Linked DNA regions of Homo sapiens: region 2 is linked to region 1. Evidence: promoter capture Hi-C in 16 types of primary human blood cells and fetal thymus (Javierre and others, 2016). All regions are on one chromosome and are shown on one strand. Each heading gives the region's core, a stretch centred on a gene start or on the middle of the fragment in contact. The rest is flanking DNA. Distances are from core to core; before and after follow the strand shown.

What was found. Contacts are between HindIII fragments. The CHiCAGO score rates a contact against its expected background, and 5 or more counts as called.
Region 2: a contact is called between a fragment that was not itself captured here and the fragment with the promoter of MS4A13 in region 1, in 2 of 17 cell types (naive B cells and total B cells). The highest score is 6.5, in naive B cells.

Annotation. Positions count from the first base shown.
Region 1 is chr11:60,511,009-60,518,044 of GRCh38, forward strand. It overlaps MS4A13 (membrane spanning 4-domains A13), which reads left to right and starts at 4,384. Exons shown (of 7, transcript NM_001012417.3): 1 at 4,384-4,599; 2 at 4,961-5,076. The HindIII fragment of the contact is 9,060 bases long and covers 3,108-7,036 here.
Region 2 is chr11:60,606,889-60,614,455 of GRCh38, forward strand. It overlaps LOC105369321 (a long non-coding RNA gene), which reads right to left. Exons shown (of 6, transcript XR_001748240.2): 5 at 4,356-4,519; 6 at 1,407-1,576. It also overlaps the pseudogene MS4A19P. Among named protein-coding and RNA genes, the nearest start is that of LINC00301, 5.1 kb to the right of the region's middle. The HindIII fragment of the contact is 7,080 bases long and covers 2,397-7,567 here.

The sequences.
Region 1 (7,036 bases), core at 3,134-5,633:
ATACCCAGGGACACAAACACTGCGGAAGGCGGCAGGGCCCTCTGCCTAGGAAAACCAGAGACCTTTGTTCACATGTTTATCTGCTGACCTTCCCTCCACTATTGTCCTATGACCCTGCCAAATCCCCCTCTGCCAGAAACACCCAAGAATGATCAATAAATACTAAAAAAATAAAAATAAAAAAATAAAATAAATGAGCAGATGTACAGAAGAAAGAAAAAAAAAGAAATATGATATTGCAACATAGAGGTCACATGCCTGCTGTGGTATTATTTAAAGCCCTTATGGTATTTTCATTCTGGAAAATCTTTTTTAAATGTTCATTTTTTTCATTCATTTGCTTAAAAAGAAGTATTACACTACTACTTTGTGATGAAAACTCTGCTATTCCATCAAATTTAGGCTTTACATATTTTTTCATGTAGGGTAATATAAAATGAAATGGAGTAGGATTTATCTAGATGTCAGCGAACACATGCTTTTTTCATGCACAATTAACGCTGGATTTGCATACAGAGACTTTGCCTACGAAATATAACTTAAGCTACACACACACATACACATTACACACACATCTCAAGTACTTCCTATATTTAGTCTCTTCCGTCCTCAGAAGAGCACAGATCATTATTAGATCTCTAGGCCTCTAGGGTGTCTTCTAATTCTAGATTCTAAGGCTTTACAGAAGGTCGGTCGATCATTCATCATGAAACACATGGGCTCAAGAATAATCTTTCAAGAATCTATAAATATATCTTAGATAAACATGTGTCATTGATTCATGCCTGGCCAAAACAAAATTTCTGAAAGCTCTCTATCCCAGAACATCTTTGCATTTGTCACAACCCTCTAATAATCAATCACAATTGTCCCCTTTTCCCACAGAGCAGATGCTGGCCAAACCTACCCTGAGTTTGGACAACTGGGGGTGGGGTGCAGAGTCCCTAGGCATCTATTTGCAGGGGTGATTTGCATCAAGGAAAATATGCCACAGAAATTTTGAGTTCAGGTATCTGATACTCAAGCTGAAAGATCAGAATCCAGTAGCCAGCCTCACCTAGGTGACCAGGTCTAATCCCTATGGAGAAAGGGCTGTGCTCCTCACTTGTGCATGGACTATAACCAGGCTCCTTCTCTGTAAGGAAGACTGAAGATGATGCAAGGCTGTTTGAACACCTCCAGGGCTCTGATGCTTGGGGAGCCCTGGGAGACAGCATCTGGGGTAAGGCAGCCTTCTCCCAGAGAAGCTGCAGCAAGGCCTGAGAAGACTACAGTGTATCTGGAAAGTGGCTGCCCCATATACTCAGCAACAGCTCAGCCAATGCCTGCTGGAGAACAAATGTGAAAATTCTGGGGACTCCCAGAAATGCTCTGGAAATTGGGATTTGCAGATAAGTGGGGTCATTCTTCAACAGATGGGGGTGGAAACCAGGCCACCTGGGCCATAAGGCTAACATGTCTTGCTAATTCCCACAGGCTGGAGAGGCCTTGGATATCAGTGTTTTCCTAAAACTTGCTGCTTTCTGCCTTTTTCTCTTCATTTTGCATTTAAAACAAACCAAGCAAATTTATAATTTATAACTGTTCTCTCTTTTCTCCTAGCTCTCCTCCTCTCCCTCAGTTCTCTGGTTTCACTCTTATAAACAAATTGCTGTTACTAAATTCTAGCAGCCTAGCAGTGCTCAACGGGCTTCATTCAAACTCTTTCTCCACACACACACCACAGGGGTCTCTATTTCATTTAGGTCTCACTCACAATTTCACTTTATATTTCACAACTCTTCCTACTCTCCCAAGTATTTGGCAACGCTTAAGGATATGGTATGGACTTTTAGGCCAAATGTCATTTCATATATTTATACAATGCTACAATGTGTACTTCAAGACCCTAATTTTACAGATGAGAAATGAATTCAAAGAGTAGAGGAGTGGAGTACACACAGCCAGAACTGGAGCTGGAAACCATCCCTAGATCTTGTGATTGCTTCAACAATATTCTTTATGCAATTCCATGACAGTCACAACATAGAGCTCTTTCTGAAGGAGACTTAGAGGAAGAAAAGTGGGTAGGAGGATGGGCTACAAATTCTGGAGCTAGACTTACACTGCTGGAGTTAGAATCTCAACTCTTAACATTTATAAGCTGTGTGACTCTTAACTTCGCCAAACCTTAGCATACTCATCTGTTAAAATGAAAATAACAATGGTATGTACATCATTGGCATGTGGTGAAGTTTAAATAAGCAATATAAGGTACTTAACATATTGCCTCAACATAGTAAATGAAAGGGAAAAAAAGCAAGATAAGTTTAAGCTATTAATTAGCATTTTACTAAAGAATAGTATATAAGTGATATAGTAAACATATGAAAACTGAAATCTACTATATATATGTGTGTGTACCAGCATATATATATATACCTACATACATATAGATTATACCTTACATAAATATACATATGTATGGACATTGCATTTCTACAATGAATTCAATTGTTTAGTTTCCCCAGTTTGCATAGATTTCCATTTTACTTTACTAGAACACCCTAGTGTTTACACAGAGGAAACATCTGTTTTCTCTAGTGTATAAATAAATAAAATTCCTCAAAGAAATCTGGACAAGTTATTTTATCAGGGCTCACAGCCAACAGGGTCCTTGTAATAATCCCCAACAATGGTTTTAACAACATTATATAGGCATTGTGGTTCCAGCACATTTTCACTAATGTCTTTTGTATACTGGGAACTAATTCAAGAGAAATTAACAATATGATCCACATGGAGAAATAAAAGTCATATTGGATGTCAAACCATGACTGATTGATTGCCTCTTCATTGCTGAAGAATACAGTTTTTAACAACCAAAGGATAAAAAATTAAAGTGAATTCTGAATTTCCAAATCCAGTTTATAGGTACTGAGAAAATCAATGTTGCTTTTACTGATCTGTGATATTAGCAGAAGAAATAAGATGTACCAAGGAACCATGCCTGTCTCATAGTTTGGCTCACTCTTCTATTTTTGCCTATGTTTATACTGAAAACACATTTTGGCCCCAGTCCAAAAAAATGACCAAATCCATGATAATTTCCAGAGACTGTTGGCCAAAGCTTAAATGAAGAAATATGTCACTTCTCTCACAAATAATCAATCAGTCTTGGCAGCAAGTTACAATAGCGGTCCATCTCATCAGAACTGGCTCTTACTACTATGGATTCTAAAAAATCCATAACCCTGAGGTTGAAGACACAGTTCCTCTTTCTACAGCAAAGAGAATGCTTAATATTATCGGAGCCCTGTCTGCTCATAGACAAGGAACTCACAAAATAATAATAATGCTAGAAACTGAAGTGGTATATTACTTAAGAATAAAACTATTACCTTCAATGACATACTGACCAATACAGAATGTAAAGACTTTAGAAGAGGCTGGGCTTTTTTTTTTTGTTTTTTTTTCCTTTGATTTGAGGGGACTTTGGAGTCTCAATGTAAGGAAGCTAGCTGTGAGACTAAAAATTAAGATTCTCAATTTACAGTTGATTTTTCAGGCTATAAAAGATCTTGATGGCTTTTAGACACACTCATGATTTAGCTTTTTGCAAATAAAGGTGTTGAAAGCATAGAAAATTTCCTTATGAAAGAAAAATCTGTCTTGTTTTCTGCGTGTTTTACTCACTGGCTATCATTGACTAAAAATTTACACTACAAGCTGGAATTTTAACTATTCCACAATGTCAATTTAAATTTTCCATGAATAAATGAGAAATGCCATTGAGTGGCTGTTCTCCAGGTACTTTAAACGCCTCAGTAAGTCATGATAGCTGCCTAAGAGGATGGTCTGTACTGCTCATCTAAAGCACCTCTTCATAAACACTGTTTTAACTACTGTCTACACCTCAAACAGAAAACTAACACCACGTGTCACCTAAAAGGTAAACCCGCCTCAGCAAGTGGATCAAAAAGTCATTCTGGTGTCTTGTTAAGTATTACTTTCATCACTAATTTCCTTCTTCAGTTACTTATGTTTAAAGAAAAAAAAAGTGAGCCATTGATTTAGCCACTTCACTCGAAAGTGCACCTTCCAAAGGTGCTCTTGTGGTCAAAATTTTTCTTTGAAGACAGAAAAGGTGAAGGGCGGACTTCTCCTCAGTGATCCTGGTCACTGTGCAGCAGGTGGGTGTATAAGAAATGCACCAATATGGGCAATCTCAGAATAGAGGTTTGCAGAAACCGTTCCTAGAGGCACCAAAACGTAGTTAACCGGGTGTCTGACCACATGGCTGCCAGGAGCCTAGTGAGTCTGCGCACACGCACTACCTCCGCCCCGGCAGTTCCTGAGTGGGTGCGCAGGCGCAAGAGGAGCACACCGTTGCCATTGCAGACCGTCACTCCCTGAGGAGCCTGAGAGCCGGCCGGGTGCTGGGCTCCTGGCTATCCCTGTGATGGTAGCTCAGCGAGATCTGGGGACCTGGCGCTGAGCGCGTTGCCAGCCGGGATCTTCCTCTTCATCTAGGCCTGGGCGCTGGCGTGAGAACTCGGACTGGGTCCTGGACGAGCGCCCCCCGAAACTCCTTGGAACCTTGAACAAGTAAAATGCAGGGTAGTGATGTCGCTTTGCTGGAGTGCTTTCGTGTCAGAAGCCATAAAGGGACACGGAGGCTGATTACGGTGTTCCTCTCCCTATCATACTCTGTAAACAGTAGGCACTATTTACTACTCAGAGATGATAGCTGTAAAATGCCGATATGTTTTAGTCATAGAGAGAGACTTTTCAGTTATGAAGGCTGTTATTCAGAACAGATGGATGAAAGTTGATGCCTCTAATATTAAGGCCTAGAAAGAAGAAAGAAGGCTATTGCTTCTGAATTTGGAGAGGTGGTGACTGAACAATAAGGAAAGGATCAAACTTACGTATTTTCTTCTAAGAAAATAATGTATATGTGCTTTGTACTGTTTTGTAGAAGTTTGCTAATAAAGACATCACCAAAGGTTAAAGAGAAAATCATCTAGAGGAAATGCTGGCAGTATGGCATGTGTTCTTTAACAAATCTCTACAGCAGATTCTCTCGTTTTAGGGGTAAGATTTCACTTTGACTAACTAAATTTAAGATCATGAACTATTTCATTTTTTTAACGGATATATTGGATCTAAAGGGGGACAGACTTGGTTAAATCAAAAGGGTAAAAGTTTTTTTTTTTTCAAATGTTGATTGTCTTCTACAAATTTTGACTGATCTCATGTTCCTTCATGTGCTGAGATATGGGGATACAGACTAAACCAACACACACAGGATAATAGAGAAATCCAAGTAAGGTTTAAAAGGAAAAAAGAGAGTACTGCACTTACATTTATGCAGTAGGATGATTATAAATTTGTCTCTTCTATTAAGTTATAAACATGTGAAGTTACAGTTTAGCTTTCTTAATGAACACCAAGGAATTATGAGTATCATGCTTTTTCACATCCAAAGGGGAGAAAACATTTCCACTCGTGAACTTTTCTTCTGAATTTGAATGTTGCATAGATCAATTATCTAAGTCGCCTATACGACTGTTCAGCAGAGGTTCTTAACCTCTTTGGGGTCACAGACCATTTTGGCATAGAATGAAAACTCTGAATCTTCTTTCCAGAATTATGTACATGTCACAATCCTTCGCATTTTTTTTCCCTGGGGGCAGGGGGTAGGCGGGTCTGACCTCCTGGAACTCATATTGATTCTAGATTAAGAATCATTTTTAAATAAGAAAACCTATCTTGTCCTTCTCCACACACTGGCAGTTCTTAACAAGCATTGGCTAATTAGCTATCTCATGGTTTTATATAAAACAATAGTCAATCATTTAAAAAGAGATAGTACTTTTCAAGCTCACTTACTTTTTTAACAGTTGGGAAAGTCACATGGAATCACTATTCTTGACACCAGTATGCTTATATAAGAGGTATTTGCTGGATGCCTTCTCTATTCTGGGCACCATATTAGAGGCTGGTGATAAAACAATAAAAAAAAAAAAACTCCAGGCCCTAAGGGATTTTGCAGTCTAGTGGGAGATATTTCTCCAGGCAAATCCAAAGAATTTCTGGAAAATTACCATTCTTGCAAATTTGATGCAAGGGGAAACGTTAAATTCTAAATCTATAAAAATGCATGATCGTTACCAAAAAAGAGACTTTTTCTTAAAAAAAAAACAAAACTTCTCCAAAATGTATTTTTTAAAGTTAGCCAATTGCACTTATATATTTCATAGACTGCCTGCTTTGCAAAGAGCTGGAACTCTTAAAACATTAAATAGCTTTCTGTTTAAGTTTATATGAAAATAAAATTTATGTGTCCTCTGTCATTTTTAAAGAGTAATCAAAAATGTGATTAAATATATGAAATATCAGTTCACATATAAATTCAGAAATAAATTTGCTGGGATTATAATTATCTTCTTACAAATTAGAGTTGAGTAATAATTCTCCCCTATTCAAAATCCTTCCCCTTTCCAATGGGAAAACCGAGTTCAAGCGAGTCCATTTTGGATATTTTCTGTATTGCTGTGTTGGATTATGCCCCACTCCAGCATACTTGTGAAAAAAATCATACCAAATACTCCTTGAAGGAAAAGATAAATCAAACCTTTATAAAATTCAAAAAGTGATTCATCTTTAATAAATTACTAATGTACAAGAAAATGTTGGATTTATGGCTTCCTGCATTATAGTAGATTAGTAACCACATTTTCTCTGAAGTAACCCCAATATTCTCTCATACCATTACTTGATAGGTAGGGAGACTATCCAGTGATAGAATCAAACTGTTAACTTACAGGAGAATTGGCCAGAGCTACTATTATTGAACAGCCTGTTGCTTTCAGTATGACTGATTCCTATTTGGTAAATCTCAGTCCTTCCTGATCGGTCCTTTTTTCTGGGATAACCAATCCAGGAAATACATCATTAAGTGCATTGCTGTTTTACTTTTGTATTTGTAAAGGTGTTAAATGCTTCTTATAGTTAACACTTATTGGAATTGTGTTTTAAATTACATTATTTC
Region 2 (7,567 bases), core at 4,687-7,186, 97 kb after region 1:
AGGGCAAAATAGTGGGAACTTTTACCAATACTTAGAAATCAACTTTTCTGAATTGAACCCATTGGATATTGCCTGTATTTAAATTCCTAACTAATTAAGTAAACTCTCCTTACTTCAACATCCAAAACTCTTGGTTAATTATCTAGTTGCAAAGAATACACCAGTTTGCATTTTATTGGATTTTTCTTATTTCTATGTAGCTTTGAAAGTGATTTTACAGTGAGTGCAATGGTAAACCTCCTTAGGAACGATTTATGTCTCTGATTCAATAAAGAAATGAGTTTAGAAATTTTAAACTACTTGCTCAGAGTCACGTGGCTAGTCACTTACAGATCATTTTTTCTAATGCAGAATGGTTTTAAATTCTAAATTATCTTACCCCACAAAATGGAGCTTTTACAAAAATCAATTCAGTGGCACATCAAAGAATCATTTTGCTGCTGCGGAGAATGCTAATATTTTATGACACATACCCTGATGGATACCTTAAAGTGGTATCTTAAATAAATAGAAACATAAAGATATTGCTTAAGATTATATTTGTATAACAAGAATGGCTCATTTTATTGGATTGATCTTTAATTATGATCTTAACTCTTTCATTTTTCTAATTTATCTCTTAAACTATCATATTCATATTAGTAGGAAATCCAGAATCTTCCTTCTGAGGGCCCCTCCCTGTTGACCCTCTCAAGTTACTCAAAACCACTGGGATCCAAAGGTTCGATATTGACTCCAAGCCCTTAGTTAACAGAGTCATGTAGTACCTCATCAGTCCACCAGTGTGCCCTTAATTTCCACTGCTATGGTTCAGTTACTATTAAATGACGCCATTATTTAACACTGATTTGAGTAGCCCATGGTGACCTTGTCATAAAAGTGCACTGAGTACTGAAGAGGCTTGGGCTTCCAATATTACGGATTCTGTATTCTTGTCTCTAACCCAGCTATACTGTCAGGATATGGGTCTATTGGAGCTTATAGACAGAGGCACAATCCCAGGAGGAAATTCCTACCCCCAGGTCACATCAGCCCTTGTGTTGAGTCCAGGTTACAAGTCCAAACATTCTTTTCTTTCATTGTTTCTCTTTAGTGTCCTTTCCTATCAACAGGGCAAATTTATGTAAGTTTCTCTATTAAATAAGTTCTATAACACTAAACCTCAAGGGTGTCACAATTCCATCTTCCCCAGAGATTTATTGGACTCAATGAAAATTTCCTGTTATTATCCACAACAATAAACAGGAAAACACAATCAATGATTCTCATCATACATTTGGCAGAAATATATCAGTATATCATCATCCTCAATAATTATCCATTGTAATTACAATTAAAAAATATTTAAAATTCTATTGTTGAGGGTGGAGGATAGGGTGGGTAGTTTTTCTCTTCTATTTTTCTTCTTCAATTTTAAGATACCTTTATTATTTCTAAAGTGCTCACATAGAAAGATCTGTAAGGAATGTACATTTTCTTTGTGGATACAGAAAAGTGGCAAACTCCTTTCGGAATATCTGTTCATATTAACCATCTTGGAGTTGTTTGTGGCAAGTATAGTCAGCCACTGGGCATCCTAAGCAAAAAAGAGAAGAAGATAAAGATGCAGTGAGTATCCCATTTTTCCCTTAGTAGATCAGAAGATGTTGTCTTCTGTTATGAACACTATTTGAATAACTAAGGTTTTGATATGAATTAAGTATAAATAATGCCATCACTAAGCTGTGATTGTAGATAGCTGAAAACACTCGGCACTAACTGTCATGCACTTATATGGGTCCCTCCACAACTGAATAAATAATTTTCCCTTTTATAAAGGTGTTTTGCATTACAGGATGCTTTTATGTCCATAACATATGAGAGAATAAGGTAGAAGATATGTGATTTTCTGGCTCAGGTCTGTTTAATTCTACAGACATTACCCTGGAAACAAAAAGCTTTGTAGAAGTTGTTACCAGGCACGGGGATATGGGACTACTGAAGACTGAAGCCTTTATTTCTCAAAATTTGGGAGAACAAGTTGAATATCTAAGTGTAGAACTTTAGTGTCTTCAGAAACCAAGATTTGGGAGTAATGGAGAAGTTGAAAAAGATGGTAAAGCCTTTTTTCAATAAAGCTATTTTCCTACTTTCTCCATATCAACTACTTCACGTCTAAAGGAAAACTTAACCTCCATTTGACCTCACTAAATCAGAGAACTTCAATCTCACTAAATCAGAGAACTTCAGTGAAAGATATGCCTGCCCTTTTTCCCCAGTACCCACTCAACAGGCCGAGGCTTAGAGATCTATGAGATCATAAAAACAACTGAGAAGGAGACCACAGTTAACACAAAGAAGAAAGTGAGTTGTCCATATATCCTAGACCACATGTGTAGAAAGGTTTAGGAAATTTAAGCTTCCTCCCCATTTTACCACTTTCTAATCTCATCTGTTTGACCCTTTGACCTGCCTTCTTACCTGGGTCTTACTTAATCTCTTCAGGTTGCTGTTCTGTCCCTTGACTTTTCCAACTGTACCTCTATAGTTTTTGTATAGGCAACACCATATATACCTACAGCTTGGTAGATGTATACCATCTATAAATTTATAATAATCCAAATGTTAAATCTCCACCCTAGACCTTTCTACTGAGCTCTAGGCTCATATTGCCAACTTCTCTCTAGAGAGTTTGATTCGAAGGATTCCAAAGCACCTCAAATAAAACATATCTAAAACTGAACTAATCATCTCACCCACAAAGTCATTACCTTGTCTTTTCCATTTAAGAGCACCACCATCTATCTACCTGCCTGCCCTGGCGAGGGAGCTGAGAAATACTCTCAAATTGAAACAATTTGACAATCCTTTTTACATGATCCCCTAAATGTATTTCAATTCTGTCCTCTGTTTCTTCATCTCCCCAAATGAAAGTTTAAACAGGAAACACTTACCACACGAAAGCCTGATATTCTAGCACAACATTCATTTCTGTAATAATTTAGCCCAATCTACTTTCTTGACTTCATTTCCTACCACTCACGCCCATAAATGCTGTGCTCCAGCCTCACCAATTTACTTATCATTCCATAAATATGCCTTGTTAAGTTTACCATCTTAATTTGTAAATAGCTTTGTTTAGGAATCTCTATTTTGAATTAAACTGATAAAATGAATTAGGAGGGAGAGGAATTTATCATATAGATTTCTTTTCTTGTATTTCCCACTTTCTCTTGACACTCAGAGGCTACATCTTCATTTGTACTGCAAAAGTCACTTGCTTTTCAAAACATGTGAATTAGCTATAATTCCAGATGAATTAGGGTATTGAAAACCTGTTATCTGGATCACTGATTGCCTTTCAATGAATCTTCTTTAAGTAAGGTATTAAAATGGGGAGCTGAAGTTCCATCTAAAGGTATTCAAACTCGAAATCTCAAAAAAATATGGCTCTAACTAAAAGCAAAGTAAACAAAACACACCAAACACACACACACACACACACACACACACACACACACACTCACAGAGGTCTTATTCTTAATTCTTCTCTGAATAAAGTGAAAAGAGAACAAACATGGATTGGGTATATAAGAACATATAGATTTCTACTCCAACTAAATAGAATTTAAACTGACAGCTATTCAATGCTATACTTAATAATGTAATCAAGTTTGAGTAGAAAACAATATGCCCTTTATGATCAATCATTGTCTTGGGGACTGTCTTTTCATATAGCATTGTCTTTGGCTTTCAATCTATAGAAACAAAAAAGAAGGGAGGATGGAAACCAGGGAGAAAGGGAGAGAGGACAAAGAAAAAAACTAAAAAGTATCAAAAGCACATGGTTTAATTTAAAAATCTCGCCTGGTGGGGTGGTTCACACCCATAATTCCAGCACTTTGAGAGGCTAAAGCAGGGGAATTGCTTGAGCTCAGGATTTTGAGACCAGCCTGGGGAACACAATGAGACCCCATCTCTACAAAAATATAAAATAAAATAAAATAAAATAAAATAAAATAAAATAAAATAAAATAAAATAAAATAGTAAAGTAAAGTAAAATAAAATAAAATAAAATGCATAAAGTTGAAAAAATTACCCAGGAGTGGTGGCACATCCCTGCAGTCCTTAGCTACTTAGGAGGGGAAGGTGGAAGGAGGGCTTGTGCCCAGGAATTCAGAGTTACAGTGAGCAATGATAGTGCCACTGCATTCCAGGCTGGGTGACAGAGACCTCATCTCTAAAAAAATAAATAAAATAAAAATCTCAATGAGGAGAATACTTCTATTAGAATTATTTCCAAAATTCTAACCCAAATTCTATAGTTCTTTATTTTAGAGTGTGCTAATGATCAATTTACTGATATCTAACTTACCTCAGGTTCATGGCAGAAGGAGATCCTTTCTCTGCATATTAAAGAAACCATCAGTGAGCTCAGTCAAGGAGGAAAGTTTAGTGGCAAATGAAGAACTTCATTCTGTTCAAGAGGCTTCTTGGAAAATGTAATTTCATTAAATCCATCTCAGTATTCTCTTCCCCCTATTTCATTAATAAAAATTAAAATTGATGAATATGGTTATTTTTGTCTACATGAGGAACTGTGCATGAATTTATCTCAGTTTGAATATGGTCAGCCTGAGTTAAGGGATTCTTCCATACAAGAGAAGTTCTATGAATGGGCACATGTTACTAGAGTAGAATCTATACCTAAAATTGATAATGATGTAATAAATGCTAACTCGAGAAAATTATTTCATTGTGAGAAGGAGACTTCGCATAAATGATAAATAATCCCATTGCTTGTGAAGGCTTCTTTGCTTATTAGCTCTAAATACTACTAATTATTTCTTTCTCACTGGATATTATTAAAACATGCATAGCTTACCTACAGTGAAGAAGGTATATTACAATTAGCCATATCTTTATGTTATTGAGACTACATGAATTAATAGCTACTGGATTTAGTTTGTCTAGAAAGTCCAGCTCCCAAAACGTTACATATTTTTGCCTATAATTTTACACTGTGGCTTATCACACTCAAATTTTAAGCAAATTATCTTAGAAATGTTTTGTTGTGTCTATAAGGATGCTTCCTATTTTTTAAATTTTCTTTGATCTCCATACCCCACTCCCCCTTCCCTCCCTCCATGAGCAATTGTTCCACTTTATAAAACATGCATATTTTATTTGTCAGTATCTCCCCAAAAATGTATGGCATTCTATTGTAGGAATGTATCTGGAATCCATGAAGTTCATACACACCCATAAATTACATGCACAAACTTTGCTCCTCCTAACAGTAAGTTTTAAAGATCTATCCGTGTGGCTATCAGTACCTCTATCAGTTGATTTTAAATGCTGCCTAAAGTCTGTGCCATGCACCCCGCACATTTATACATTCGCTGTCCCAGAAATGGGCAACTGGGTTCCCCCCATCTTGCCCCTTAAGTAATTTGGGGGGATACAAATTCAAGATTAGAGTATCTGTGTTATTTACATATATGCCATTTGTTTATGAAGTGCAAAAATTTCCACCATTTAGAACAGTCTTCTGTTGCAGGTCCTTTATTATTGTGTGTTTTTCTTCAGTCTAGTCTGTATACTTTTGTTCTCTTAGGAATTCACAGATTCTGGTTCACCAAGAGAGTTGCTTCTTATTTTTCAATGTGGCAATGGAATTTTTTTTGTAAGTGTGCTCCTTGGAATTGGAGTTCATATGAAGAATAAGTAGCATCTGCTTGGTCTACCTTCATGAACTAAAAACCACAACTGTGAGAGAGACTTGCATAAATGTATGGGTTGAGAAGAAATACAAAGCAGGGAGTAATATTTGAATATACTGGGGAGAAAGAGATAATTGATGGATTAAGGTTTATAAGCCCTTTGAAGGACATGAGATTAGTAGCACAGGGACAGATTACACTTTAGAATAGAGGAAAGACACCTAATTCTGATCAAGTAAGAAAATAGTGAAAAATTAGCTTTAATGTAAATGTTCTTTATCCATTCCTCCATATGAGAAGGATAAGAAAGAACATGAGAGACTTTGTCTTTCCTTTGAAAAAATTGACAAGGCAGTCATTTAGGAGTGAGGGGTGGTAATGAATAAAGTACTTGTTTGGATTAAGAGTTGCCAGGAATCAGAGGCAAAATTGGCCAAATTATACTCAACGATTTAATTAGAAGCACAGATGAAGATACTGGACTTTCAGATGACATCTTTGTTGGGTGTCTATCCATGCCATTGTGAGAGTTTCCCTAAAATATCCTACACAGAAAAGGTGGCATTACAAGGTGGCAAACTTGCATTTGTGGGTTTTAATAAGATGATAATTAGTGGATCTGTGGGATCCAGGCTGAATGAGGAAGGATATGATGCCAGAAATTTTGAAAGAAATGTAGAGATTGGGGGCCAATAATCTGAAAAGGGGCTGCTAACACCTAAGATGCCTTTGTGCAAACTAGACAAAAGTACCCCGTTCAAAAGGACAGATTGCTTAATAACAGCTCCTCTGGGAAAATGAAATAGAAGGTAAGTCCCCTCTGAACAGTACAATTAGAAATTGAGGCCCCTTCCTCCTAGCTAATCAACCCAGCACCAAGGGAGTCTGCCCTGCAAGTGGAGACCAGGTGCAACTGCAGCCCCAATCTTTGACCCCATTTACATGCATCCTTGAACAAGGTCCCAGCTTCAGAGCCTGAGCTAGTTTAACACAAAGAACAGCTCTAGATAGGGAGTCATGACATGGCAGATCTGAAAGATATTTGTTTTTGATCACAGAGCAGGATATCACAATTGAGATACCGGAGAGAATGAGCCGCAAATGTAAATATAGGGTAGCTCCTCCATTTATTCATACATTCATCATAAACTACTTTTTGACAATCTACTTTGCACCAGGCATAATTCTTGCTTCTGGCAACAGATTTAAACAGAAGAGACAAGATCCTGCCTTCAGGGAGCTTATATTCTAGGGAGAGGAAGTCAGTGACACTATATGGACCATGCACTGGTCAACAAAGCAAATACATAAAAATTTAAAAGGCCAATCTCTCCTTCCCCCATAAAAAAAAAAAGAAAAAGAATCATAGTCACCCTTGGAGGGTGTTCATTATTTCAAAATTTCATAAGTAAAGAGATAAAGCACACATCTTGCCTTTCATTTTTGTAACAGTTTCATTGAGATATAATTCACATATTATAAAATTTACCTATTTATTTGTGGGTTTTTTTGTTTCTTTGTTTGTTTTTGAGATGGGGTCTCGCTCTGTTGCCCAGGCTGGAGTGCAGTGGCGCAATCTCAGCTCAGTGAAAGCTATGCCTCCTGGGTTCACACCATTCTCCTGCCTCAGCCTCCCAAGTAGCTGGGACTACAGGCACCCGCCACCATGCCTGACTAATTTTTTGTATTTTTAGTAGAGCCAGGATGGTCTTGATCTCCTGACCTCGTGATCTGCCCGCCTCCGCCTCCCAAAGTGCTGGGATTACAGGCGTGAGCGACTGTGCCCAGCCTGAAATTTACCTATTTAAAGTATATAGTTTAGTGGCTTTTAGTATATTCACAGAGTTGTGTAAGTAACACCACC